Regions from separate parts of the Homo sapiens genome. Here regions 2, 3 and 4 are each linked to region 1. The links are contacts of gene promoters, found by promoter capture Hi-C in human tissues and cell types (Jung and others, 2019). All regions are on one chromosome and are shown on one strand. The core of a region is centred on a gene start or on the middle of the fragment in contact, and the rest is flanking DNA. Distances in the headings are between cores, read along the strand shown. Region 1 holds the start of AUTS2 (activator of transcription and developmental regulator AUTS2). Region 2 overlaps AUTS2 (activator of transcription and developmental regulator AUTS2). Region 3 overlaps AUTS2 (activator of transcription and developmental regulator AUTS2). Region 4 has its middle 1.1 Mb from the start of CT66.

What was found. The method cuts DNA at HindIII sites, captures the fragments that hold promoters and counts their contacts. A contact is called where the count stands out against the background at its distance.
Region 2: a fragment that was not itself captured here is called in contact with the fragment with the promoter of AUTS2 in region 1 in 1 of the 25 tissues and cell types used here (lymphoblastoid cells).
Region 3: a contact is called between a fragment that was not itself captured here and the fragment with the promoter of AUTS2 in region 1, in 1 of the 25 tissues and cell types used here (lymphoblastoid cells).
Region 4: a contact is called between a fragment that was not itself captured here and the fragment with the promoter of AUTS2 in region 1, in 1 of the 25 tissues and cell types used here (dorsolateral prefrontal cortex).

What each region holds. Positions count from the first base shown.
Region 1 is chr7:69,597,195-69,599,738 of GRCh38, forward strand. It overlaps AUTS2 (activator of transcription and developmental regulator AUTS2), which reads left to right and starts at 1,281. Exons shown (of 19, transcript NM_015570.4): 1 at 1,281-2,544. The coding sequence starts at 2,460. It overlaps CT66 (cancer/testis associated transcript 66), which reads right to left and starts at 430. Exons shown (of 3, transcript NR_148927.1): 1 at 1-430. RefSeq lists enhancers at 451-530, 1,711-1,760 and silencers at 841-1,260, 1,281-1,360, 2,525-2,544. The HindIII fragment of the contact is 7,960 bases long and covers 1-2,544 here.
Region 2 is chr7:70,774,585-70,777,128 of GRCh38, forward strand. It overlaps AUTS2 (activator of transcription and developmental regulator AUTS2), which reads left to right. Exons shown (of 19, transcript NM_015570.4): 13 at 773-802; 14 at 2,519-2,544. Among named protein-coding and RNA genes, the nearest start is that of GALNT17, 360 kb to the right of the region's middle. The HindIII fragment of the contact is 3,112 bases long and covers 1-2,544 here.
Region 3 is chr7:70,670,041-70,672,584 of GRCh38, forward strand. The region is part of intron 5 of AUTS2 (activator of transcription and developmental regulator AUTS2); the gene reads left to right. Among named protein-coding and RNA genes, the nearest start is that of GALNT17, 460 kb to the right of the region's middle. The HindIII fragment of the contact is 3,753 bases long and covers 1-2,544 here.
Region 4 is chr7:68,541,252-68,543,795 of GRCh38, forward strand. No RefSeq gene overlaps it. Among named protein-coding and RNA genes, the nearest start is that of CT66, 1.1 Mb to the right of the region's middle. The HindIII fragment of the contact is 5,228 bases long and covers 1-2,544 here.

The DNA of each region.
Region 1 (2,544 bases), core at 31-2,530:
ATCAATTCCAGTGCCCTGAAAAACGCACAGCTATTTTACCCAGAGAGGCTGGTCGCTTTTGTTGATCGATTCTCGGCTGCAGTCAGCTCTTTAATACAACTTTTTATGAGCATCAGCCACATTGCGGCGGGAGGAGGGGCTGTGGTGGAAAAAGCAGGGAAACCGCCCCCCACTCCCAAAAAGTAAAGGAAGCCCGCGGGGCAGGGACTGCGGTTTGCCGGTCTAACGGGTCCTCGAGCTGGGGCGGCGGTCCCGGCCCCTTCGGCCCCGCCCCTCGCCCGCGGCCGCCTCCGAGGTTCAAGTTCGGCCCCCGGCTGTTAGGCCTCGCGCTCCCGGATCTGAAGCCGCCCGTGCGTCCCTAGGTCCCCCGCTGGAAGACGAGGCGGGAATCCCAGGGGTCATCCGGGCGCGGGGTCGCTCGTCCACGCACTGTGGTGCCACGTGGAGGAAAAGTTTCCAACTCTGCCAGTTGGTGCTCCCACTGCGCCCAGGCGGAGCAAAGGCCCGCGCTTTGGCACCCGCTCCCCGTTCTGTCTCCTCCAGTCGCGCCCCCTCCCAGGGACGCCCCCCTTGTACCCCTTCTCTGAATTCCCTTCTCTCCTCGCAGCGCAGGTAGCCAAGGGAAAACACCCTTGGGGGCTGGTGGGGCTTCCCGAGAAGGCGGCCTCGGGCCGGCCAGGGGTAGAGGATCCAGGGACAAGTGTCCCGAGGAGGATGTGGGGGGCGCGCGCGCGAAGTGGCCTGGGAGCAGGGGCCCACACGCGTCCCCGCTGCGACAGGCGGGATCCTCCGGCGGCTTCCACGCCCTGGCGCGCCAACTCTGCCCGGCCGCGGCCGACCCCACGCGGGCGCCCCCTCCACGCCCCCGCCCCCGCCCCCCTCACAGCTCCCCACCGCCCCCAGTGCGCAGGCCCGGCCGCCCCAGCGCGCATGCCCTGGGCTCGCGAGCGCGGCCAGCCCCCAGCCTTTTGCTTTCTACACACTCTACAACTGGGGAGGGGGCGGGGGAGGAGGGAGCCCAGCCGTCCACGTGATCCCGCCGGCCGGGGCCGCGGGGGCGGGAGCGCGCGCCGAGAGAGGCGCGGGGAGGGCGGGTGCGCGGGAGCGCGCGCACTCGAGCGAGCGAGCGAAAGCACGAACGAGCGAGCGAGCGAGCGAGCGAGCGGGCGGGCGCGGGGTTGGGCTGAGGCGGGCGGCGGCGGCGGCGGCGGCGGTGGGCTGGCCGCGGAGGGGGAGGAGCGGGAGCTGCGCGAGGCAGGCGGGCGGGCGGAGGATGGGGCAGTGCCCGGGCTCCCGCTGCAGCCGCCCGGGGACACGCCGTGCACCCTCCGGCTCGGGGCTTTCTCGGCGGCGGCGGCGGCAGCAGCAGCAGCGTTAGCGGCGGCGGCGAGAGCAGCGTTCCCGGCTGCGCTTCTCCCTCAGGCGGGGCGGCGAGAGAAGCGGCGGCGGCGGCGGCGGCACACCGGTGTCTCTCCCGCTGGAGATTTCTTTCTGCTTTCCTCATCGACTGACTGACTCACCCCCTCCCTTTTTTGAGGAAGGGTGACCTCTTCTCTGGGACTGGAAAAAATATTTTTGTGAGGAGGGGGGCGGGTGGCAGCGACAGGGTTTGCTTCTTCTCTTCTTTCATCTCCCTCTCCTCCCCCCTCGAAGACCGAAAAGCAAACCCCACAACTGCTCCAGCAGCATCCTCCTTCCCTTCCTCCGCCTCCCTTCTCCTCCGCCGCTCGCAGTTTCGCCCTCTCTTCCGCTAATGATTGCATTATTATGCTCCCCTCTCTGGGGGGTCTCGCCCCTCTTGGGTCGCTCCGGAGCCCCGGCCTCCCCTGGCTGCATTTCTTAAAAATTTGGGAGCCTGGGAGTGAGTTTTCTCCGAGGCGTGTGTGAGAGGCGGCGGGGGTGTTTTCCTGCGCGAGGGGCGGGTGAAGTTCATTGCCCCCACTTTTCCCGCGACCTTTTTCGGACCCGATTTTGGATCGAGTTGAGGGGGGCGCGGGCGTTTTCGGGGGGCGGGGGGCGCGGCGGAGAATGGCCGCGGGGAGGGCTCCCCGGAGCCTCCCAGTCTCTTGATCAAAGCATTCCGCTATTCTGATTTATTGCTTGCTTGGTGAGTTATTTTTTTTTCCTCTAAAGGAGACCTGTGTGTTCAGCCATTACTTTGCTCGGCGCTGCTCCCAGGCATCTCCGACCCTCGGTGCTGTGGGGAGCCCCACACTTGGGCTCCTCGCCTCTCGCCCTCGCTCCCCGTCCCTCCTCCCCTCTCTCCGCCCCTTCCCCCTTTTCTTTCTCCTCTCTTTCTTCCCCTCTCTCCCTTCTTTCGGCCGCCGTCTCCCCCGCGCCCTCCTCGGGGCGGAGGGAAGCCGTGAAGGGGGAGGGAGGGCTCGGTGTCAATTTTTTTTTGTGTGGCTGCGGCCGTAGCCTGTGGCGGGCAAGCGGGGAGACCCCGGCGCAGCAGAACCATGGATGGCCCGACGCGGGGCCATGGACTCCGCAAAAAGCGGCGGTCGCGGTCGCAGCGAGACCGGGAGAGGCGCTCCCGGGGCG
Region 2 (2,544 bases), core at 18-2,517, 1.2 Mb after region 1:
TTTGTACTCTAGAGCTAAATAAAATATCCATTATGCTTTGGTTATGTTGTTTATTCATAATTTATTACCACTGCCTGCTTCCAAAAAAGGAATCTGAAGTTATACGATAGATACAATCTTGCCTCATTGTTATTTGTAGTCATCTTTATACGAAATATGAAAAAATCTTTAACAATATTGTCTTTTTACCTACATAAGGGCAGTCAGAAATTGATAACCAGAGTTAGATAGAAGTTTAAAATGACTCAACTATGTAAGTATGTCATGATGTATAGTGAACTTCTGGAAAATGTCTAATAGCTATAAATAATGTAAAGTCATCAATGTAAGGGTATTGGTAAAGAGAGCCTAATTCTCCTGGATGGATGGAAAGGACACCTCTCCCCAGATACCAGTTAGTAGACAGCTTTAAAAGCCAGGGGTCTGAAGGCCATTCTCCCTCAGACCTACCCGGTGTGGTTTGGAGCTCAAAACAGTGAAACTCCTGGTGTGTGATGTGAGCAAATCATGTTGCCAGAGGGCACATTGCTATTGATTAAACTTGTACAGGGGCTTGTCAGCGTAGATGTACCAAGGCTTGTGAAGTGGGGGAGGGGACACTTGGCACTTTTGATAGTGTGAAAATGGGTTAATTATTCTCTAAAAGGGCTTCATTTAAAAGTAAAATTCTAACATTTTAATTTCCCCTCCTAATGAAGCACTACAAATTTGTTAATTAGAGCAATTGTTTGAGTGACAGGCATGTAACCAAGTTGTCATTTTCTCTTCACAGTTGACAGATCCTTTCAGACCTATGTTAAGGGTAAGAAAGCTTCTTATAGAACTGTTTTGCAACCTCTATTTGACTCCCTGTGGGTTAAAAATACAAGTCTATTACAAGGAAATAAGCCATAGAAATGTTGGAATAAGACATTGGAATGACGGTGATTGGGTTTTTCAGATAGTGTGATTGAAAATGGCCTAAACTGTTTTGCTTTGACCGTTGGAGGCCATTGGCTTTTTTTTTTTATCTCTACAACAGAGAAAAGTCAACGAGTCCGATCTCTTGTTAGCAGTTCTGGTAAAAGGTTTGACTAGTTGGAACTTAAGGGGAAAGACTGAAGCTATAGGCTGAAGTTAGTCTCTCTTGCACTTAGAAAATATGTAGCTGGGTCCATTTATTTTGGCTGGTGGCTCCCTCTTTCTGTAGTAAGTGACATTGACTTGCCATAGCCGTTTGACCTCCTTTTAAGGTGCAGGAAGGAGGTACTATAAGCATCTGGTTTGTTAACATCTTGCTTAAAGCAAATTGTTCTCGAGGTCTGGAGACTGGCCAGTGTGATGACCTCTAAATGAATCCTGGTGGTTGGGGGTAAGACAGACATGATGAATTGTTGGACAGAAGATGGATGGACAGCAGATTTCTTGCTATGCATAACTCATTTCTAGGGCACATAATCAGATAATTTGATTTCTCCAGGGGAAAAAGGAGAATTGTGTCATCACTTAGGTGAGGCAGTATATTATTTGTGATTTCAAACTACCCATAATTTCATTGCAAGAGAAGAGAACTGACCCAGACTTGCATTTAAGTATATATTTTCGGAACTAACTCCATACTGTAGAAACCAGAAGCTTCTGTTCTTCGCCGATGTAGAATGAGGCTGTGTTTTCTTCTCATCTGTCCAGTAGTCACTGAGCGCGCACGCCGAGCTTATGGGTAGATTACTTAGCAGAAATGAAGTGAAAAGGTGGTCCCTGCCCGCTGACTGGTAGAAGAGAATACACTCACAGCACTCCACTCCTTATAAAGCAAGACATGAAATAATTGGGGAGATGTGGATTCAAATTCAACCCCAGAGGGTGGAGGATGGACTTGAGATCTGCAGAGGCCTAGATAGAGAACAGGAAGGAAGGAATATTCTTCTCTTTGTTTCTTTCTTTAAACTTAGGAACAGCGCCCACCAACACGAATGGGTAGTTGACTCTTAGCATTTACGGTAACTGGGCTTCAATCAAAATGTGAATTTCTTTGTACCACTTTGGGGGTTAAAATAAAAACCACCACGGTCTTGGGGGAGGTTAGGACAGGTTCTGTACCCTCTCTTATTTTGATTTGACTCACAGACATTCACTAATGAGCTCTTCTGAACAGCTGATTTGCATTATAGCATGGCAACATTTGTTAAGTAGGGCTTCCCACTCTACCAGGTCTGCCAGCTGGCAGCAGAAAAGAAAGAGAAGAGGCACAGAGTGGGATTCAGGCTTTTGCCGTCTTGTCCTTGGTAACCGGGGAGGCCCTTGTCAATGTGGTTTTCTGAGTAGCAAACCCACGTGGGGAGAGAGGGGGAGCTGGCTGTGACTCCCTTATGACTGGGCGCTGGAGAGCTACTGATGGAAGGCACTTGGAGAGTACAAAGCACTCTTGTTTCACGAAAAAAGCCTCTGCAGCCAAAATCTGCTGAAAGCTTTGGGGAAATTGAAGGTGGTTTTCTCTGAAATGTCTTCCTCCTAACCACGTTGCTCTTTCTTGTTCCAGAAACCAGGGAAGTGGTGTGCTATGCA
Region 3 (2,544 bases), core at 27-2,526, 1.1 Mb after region 1:
GTAACGTTCACTGTAGGCGCACCTCAGGCACACCCCGTCCCTGCTACGCTACACGCTGCCTGGTCTCTGTAGACTGTTACTGTCTGAGGACCTCCTCTCACAAACACTTATTTAACAATGGCACTTTGGCTTTTTAATATTTTATTTGATTTCTGTTTTATGGTATTTTTAATTGAACCCTGTTTTAATTGCCTTTTCTGCACACCAAGAGCCTAGGTGGGGAAGGAAGGCTTACAAATGAAATGATTATTGTTATTACTTCCTTTCTTTCTGCAGCGTCTTAGTCAAATTATAAATTGATTCCATCCACATATTAGCCCCGATCCTCATATGCATGTGTCAGAAAACAGAAAGTGTTGAATAAGGAGGCTGAAAATTTTCATCTAGCTGAGAATAAGATTTGTCAGCATTATTACAGAGTGAGGAAAGGAAATTGGGGCTAAGTTCTTGCCGTCGAGTTGAGCAGAGTACTTGGTTCCGGGTGACACAGCCCACAGGTGGGCAAGGTTTCATAAACTGAGAGCTAGAAGTGGCCTAGAAAAGACATTTAGTCGCTCCCTCGTGTCCAGTCATAGCCCAGGGCAGACATAGTTTATCCTGCACAGCCTTGGCTGACACCTCCATAAATAAGGGGACCTTCCTTTACAGCTTTTCAGAGTCTCAAGGGCAGCTACACAGTTGCCCTTAGGATAAAAGAATAAACAACCCTCATCCCCTTAAACTTCTGCCCCTCTTTACCCAGTGCCCCCGCATCCTGTTTTTTGGAATTTGACCTATTTATGCCCAGGCACTGACTGCAGGGTTGACAGTAGCCACCCTGAAGGGGCCTTGGTAGGGAGTAACAAAACAGGCGGGGTGCGGTGGCTCACGCATGTAGTCCCAGCATTTTGGGAGGCCGAGGCGGGCGGATCACTTGAGGTCAGGAGTTCAAGACCAGCCTGGCCAACATGGTGAAATCCCATCTCTAATAAAAATACAAAAATTAGCTAGGTGTGGTGGCGCACGCCTGTGATCCCAGCTACTCGGGAGGCTGAGGCAGGATAATTGCTTGAACCTGGTGGGGGGATGGGGACACGGAGGTAGCAGTGAGCCAGGATTGCACCACTGCACTCCAGCCTGGGTGACAGAGCGAGACTCCGTCTCAAAAAACAAACAAACAAAAACAAACAACAAAAACCCAGATCTGGCACACACAGAAATGGCTTCTGGCCTTATTACACCCGCTGCCTCCCCAGCTGGGTATTCAGTGGGCAGCCACTCATAGCCTTCATAAAATGACTTAGATTTGATGCTTGAAATGAAAGCTTGTCAATCCTGGGTAACCGCTTGAAGAAAGGAACATTATCCCTTAAAAGGATAGCCCTAGCCCCTAGAATATCTTTCTCACCTTGGGACTTGCTAAAATAGAATTCCTTATTTCAAAGGCAGTAAAATGTTTTGAGTTCCTACTATGTGTAGTATGCTAGGCTAGGCACTACAGGCCAAGCAAGGCAAATAAAACTAGCCTCTTTCCCTATTCCCCTGCATTTCAGAAAAGACAACACATTTCAAGGCTCTGCTTTGCAAGAGACCAGGCACCACAGTTTCCTCCTATCAGCCTGGGCATGGCAAGTAATAACCCCCCCTATGAATGAAGAGGTTGCTGTGTTCAAAGAGGTTAATAAAGTGTCCAAGACCGTACAGTGTCAGTGAGGCAGGGAAGAAATCTGAAAGCTGGTCCCTGGCTAACCTGTCTCTTTGCGTTGTCAACCTGGAAGGAAGTGTCAGATGGTTTGGCGCAGAGCTCTGTCCTTGGGCCTGGCCTGTTTGCAACCTTTGCTTAGGTGAAAAGTGAGAGTGGAAGACACTAGATTGGAAGAAGACAATCAGGATACCAAAAAATATCCCAGCAGACTGAGGACCAGAACGAAAGCCGTGGCAGTGAGAGTGGAAGGGAGGAAATGAGCAAGAGGCACAGGGAAGACAGAGCAGCCTGAGGATTCGGTGAACTGGGTTTGGAGTTAGGGAGGGTGATGGCCTAGGTAAGACCACTGACAATCAGGAGGAAATCCCAATGAGGTCATCTGTAGATTGTTGATTTTTAAAGTGCCAATGGACAATCAGTGCCACACTCCACCAAATGAGTTGGAGATACAGAAGTGTAAGGCAGGAGGAGCTGGAGTCTTGGGAGCCCCCTACTTGGAAATTACAGCGGAAGCTGGGGAACTGGTGAGAGAGAGTCCCCCACTTCCTCCTTTCTAGACATTGAAGGGATACCTGAAGAATCTCAATATTAAAGGATAAGAGAATCCAAAGAAGGCAATATTACTTGAGAAACAAGAGAATAATAATAGTATTTTGTCACGGAAGCCCAGTAACAAAGGGAGAGACAGTCTGCCACTTCTGCAGAAAGAGACAGAAAGGGCCACTGTGTTTGTTAATTAGGAGGTCCTCGGCCAGAGACCTGCTAAGCTCATAAACGTTAAAGGCCAGAGTTACTCTCTTTGGGTGGAACAGCTCCAGGGCAGCTGAATAGATAATAGTCACTGCTTCCTCGAAAGGGTA
Region 4 (2,544 bases), core at 34-2,533, 1.1 Mb before region 1:
ATCCTGTTCTTTTTTATGGCTGCATAGTATTCCATGGTGTACATGTACCTCATTTTCTTCATCCAGTCTATCATTGATGGGCACTTAGGTTGATCCCATGTCTTTGCTATTGTGAACAGTGCTGCAATGAACATATATGTGCATGTGTCTTTATAATAGAATGATTTATATTCCTTCGGGTATATACTCAGTAATGGGATTTCTGGGTTGAATGGTATTTCTTTCTTTAGGTCTTTGAGGAAAGATCACACTGTCTTCCACAATGGCTGAAATAACTTATGCTCCCACCAACTGTGTAAGCATCCCTTTTTCTGCACAACCTCACCAGCATTTGTTATTTTTTGACTTTTTATTAATAGCCATTCTGACTGGTGTGAGATGGAATCTCACTGTGGTTTTGATTTGCATTTCTTTAATGATCAGTGATGCTGAGCTTTTTTTTCCATATGATTGCTGGATGCATGTAAGACTTCTTTTGAAAAGTGTCTGTTCATGTCCTTTGCCCACTTTTTTATAACCCACCTTTTTTTTAGGCTTTAGAACATCTTAGTAGACATCAGGTAAGAAGGGAAATTCATGAGGATATGCATAAACTGCAGTTATGCTTGGAATTCTCTTGCTAAAGTTATTTGTGGAGATAGTCCTTGAATCTTAAGTACTTACTTAATTAAAATATTCACAGCTACCATAAGAATTAATATTATTTCTCAGAATCACTCCTGGGAAATACATTCTCAACAAAAAGTTGCATTTTGGTAACCCAATATCAATAGACCACAAAGAAACACAATTTAGATATTTATCCAGTTCTTGTCTCTCTCTCTATTAAATAGAAGTACTTCATATTAGAGAGAACCACACCATCACATTCACAGTAGACAAAAATGGATGTCTATGGTCTCTGTTCTCTTTTGCCAAGGTAAATTTAGCTGTAGCTAAATTTATTTGAATCCAGGCCATGCAGTTAACATGATATCTACACCCAGACTGGATAATCAACCATGACTGTTCACATGAAATCCTGGATAAAGGGGACATTAAAACATGTTAGCAATGAAGAATGCAACAGTGAATTCTAAATGACAATTCAACAGTAAATTCTGAAGGACAAAGAGATCTAAAAGGAATAGATGGTGGGGAGGGGACAGGAGCTATGAAAAAAATGGAGAATGGATGAGGCAGTGATTTGGAGCTGCCCTGCAAACATGAATGAGAAATTGCTCAGAAAAAGGCACACCTGAAAGCGTGGGAAGACTAAAGCTTCTCGTAGGTGTAATTATAAACATGCTAAAATGCAAGGTTAGGTATCAGTGAGCTGGTCATCATACCTCATCACAAAGAAAAATGAGTTTTGCCATGTTGCCTTCCCAGTGCTCAGCAAAGGATGGCTGTAGTGACACCTTTCATGGTCCATGCGGGCCCCCATAATTAAAAGGTTGAATTAGTCATGTAAACAAATTATCTCACACAAAGGGGTTTACAAATGCTGGCTAATTAGTTTAAATTCCCCAAAGCTTTCCACTGTTTTTAATTCAATAACACAGTGTAAATTCTCCAGTTAGAAAAAGTCTAATAGGAATTGGCAGAAAACTAAATAATTGATATTGTCAGCAATTGCAGCAAGCAAGTACTCCAGTGTTATTGTTTGCCAGTGATTTCCAGAGAGGATAAAGCATGAAGTTTAATGAATTAACAATATAAGCCGTAGACAGCTGGTACTCAACAGCCTCTCCATAGGCTCAGCCTCTGGCTGAGAAAAATTCTAAAGTAGATATAAATAGACATACCTCTGACTTGGATTATAACAATGTATATCATAGCAACCAGAGCTTTAATGAACGGCTTGGAAATGGTAATGAGCTAGCTGTGTGACATCAGCAAATTACTTGCCATTTCTGAGCCTAGCTTTTCGTGATCAGTACAAACAAGTGTCCTGAACTAAATTAACAGTAACAACTCTAGAACCTCCAGATTCTTAGGAGTTACAGATGGCAAGAGGAAGAAGCTACCGTTACTTTCTGTGTTTCAAAAGTATCACGAACACTGCATATTTACCCATCATGAAAAAGAGTAGGCAAGTTCTTTAAATATAGCTTGATCAGCTCAGCTTTTCTTTAGGATTTAGAACATCTTACTGGATATCAGGTATGGAAGAAAATTCTATGAGGATATGCATGAACTGCAGTTAGGCTTGGAATTCTCTTGCTAAAGTTATTTGTGAAGACAGTCCATAAATCTTAACTAAGTACCCAGTTAATTAAAATATGTACAGCTTGTCCAGGCACAGTGGCTCACGCCTCTAATTTCAGTGCTTTAGGAGGCCGTTTGAGACTAGCCTGGGGAATATAATGAGACCTCATCTCTACAGAAAATAAAAGAATTAACCGGGTATGGGTGCAAGCACCTGTAATCCCAGATACTTGGGAGGCTGACGGGGAGGAGGATAGCTTGGGCCCGGGAGTTCGAAGCTGCAGTGAGCCGTGCTCATGCCACTGCACTCCAGCCTGGGCAACAGAGCATGACTAAAGAATAAACAAAAAAACA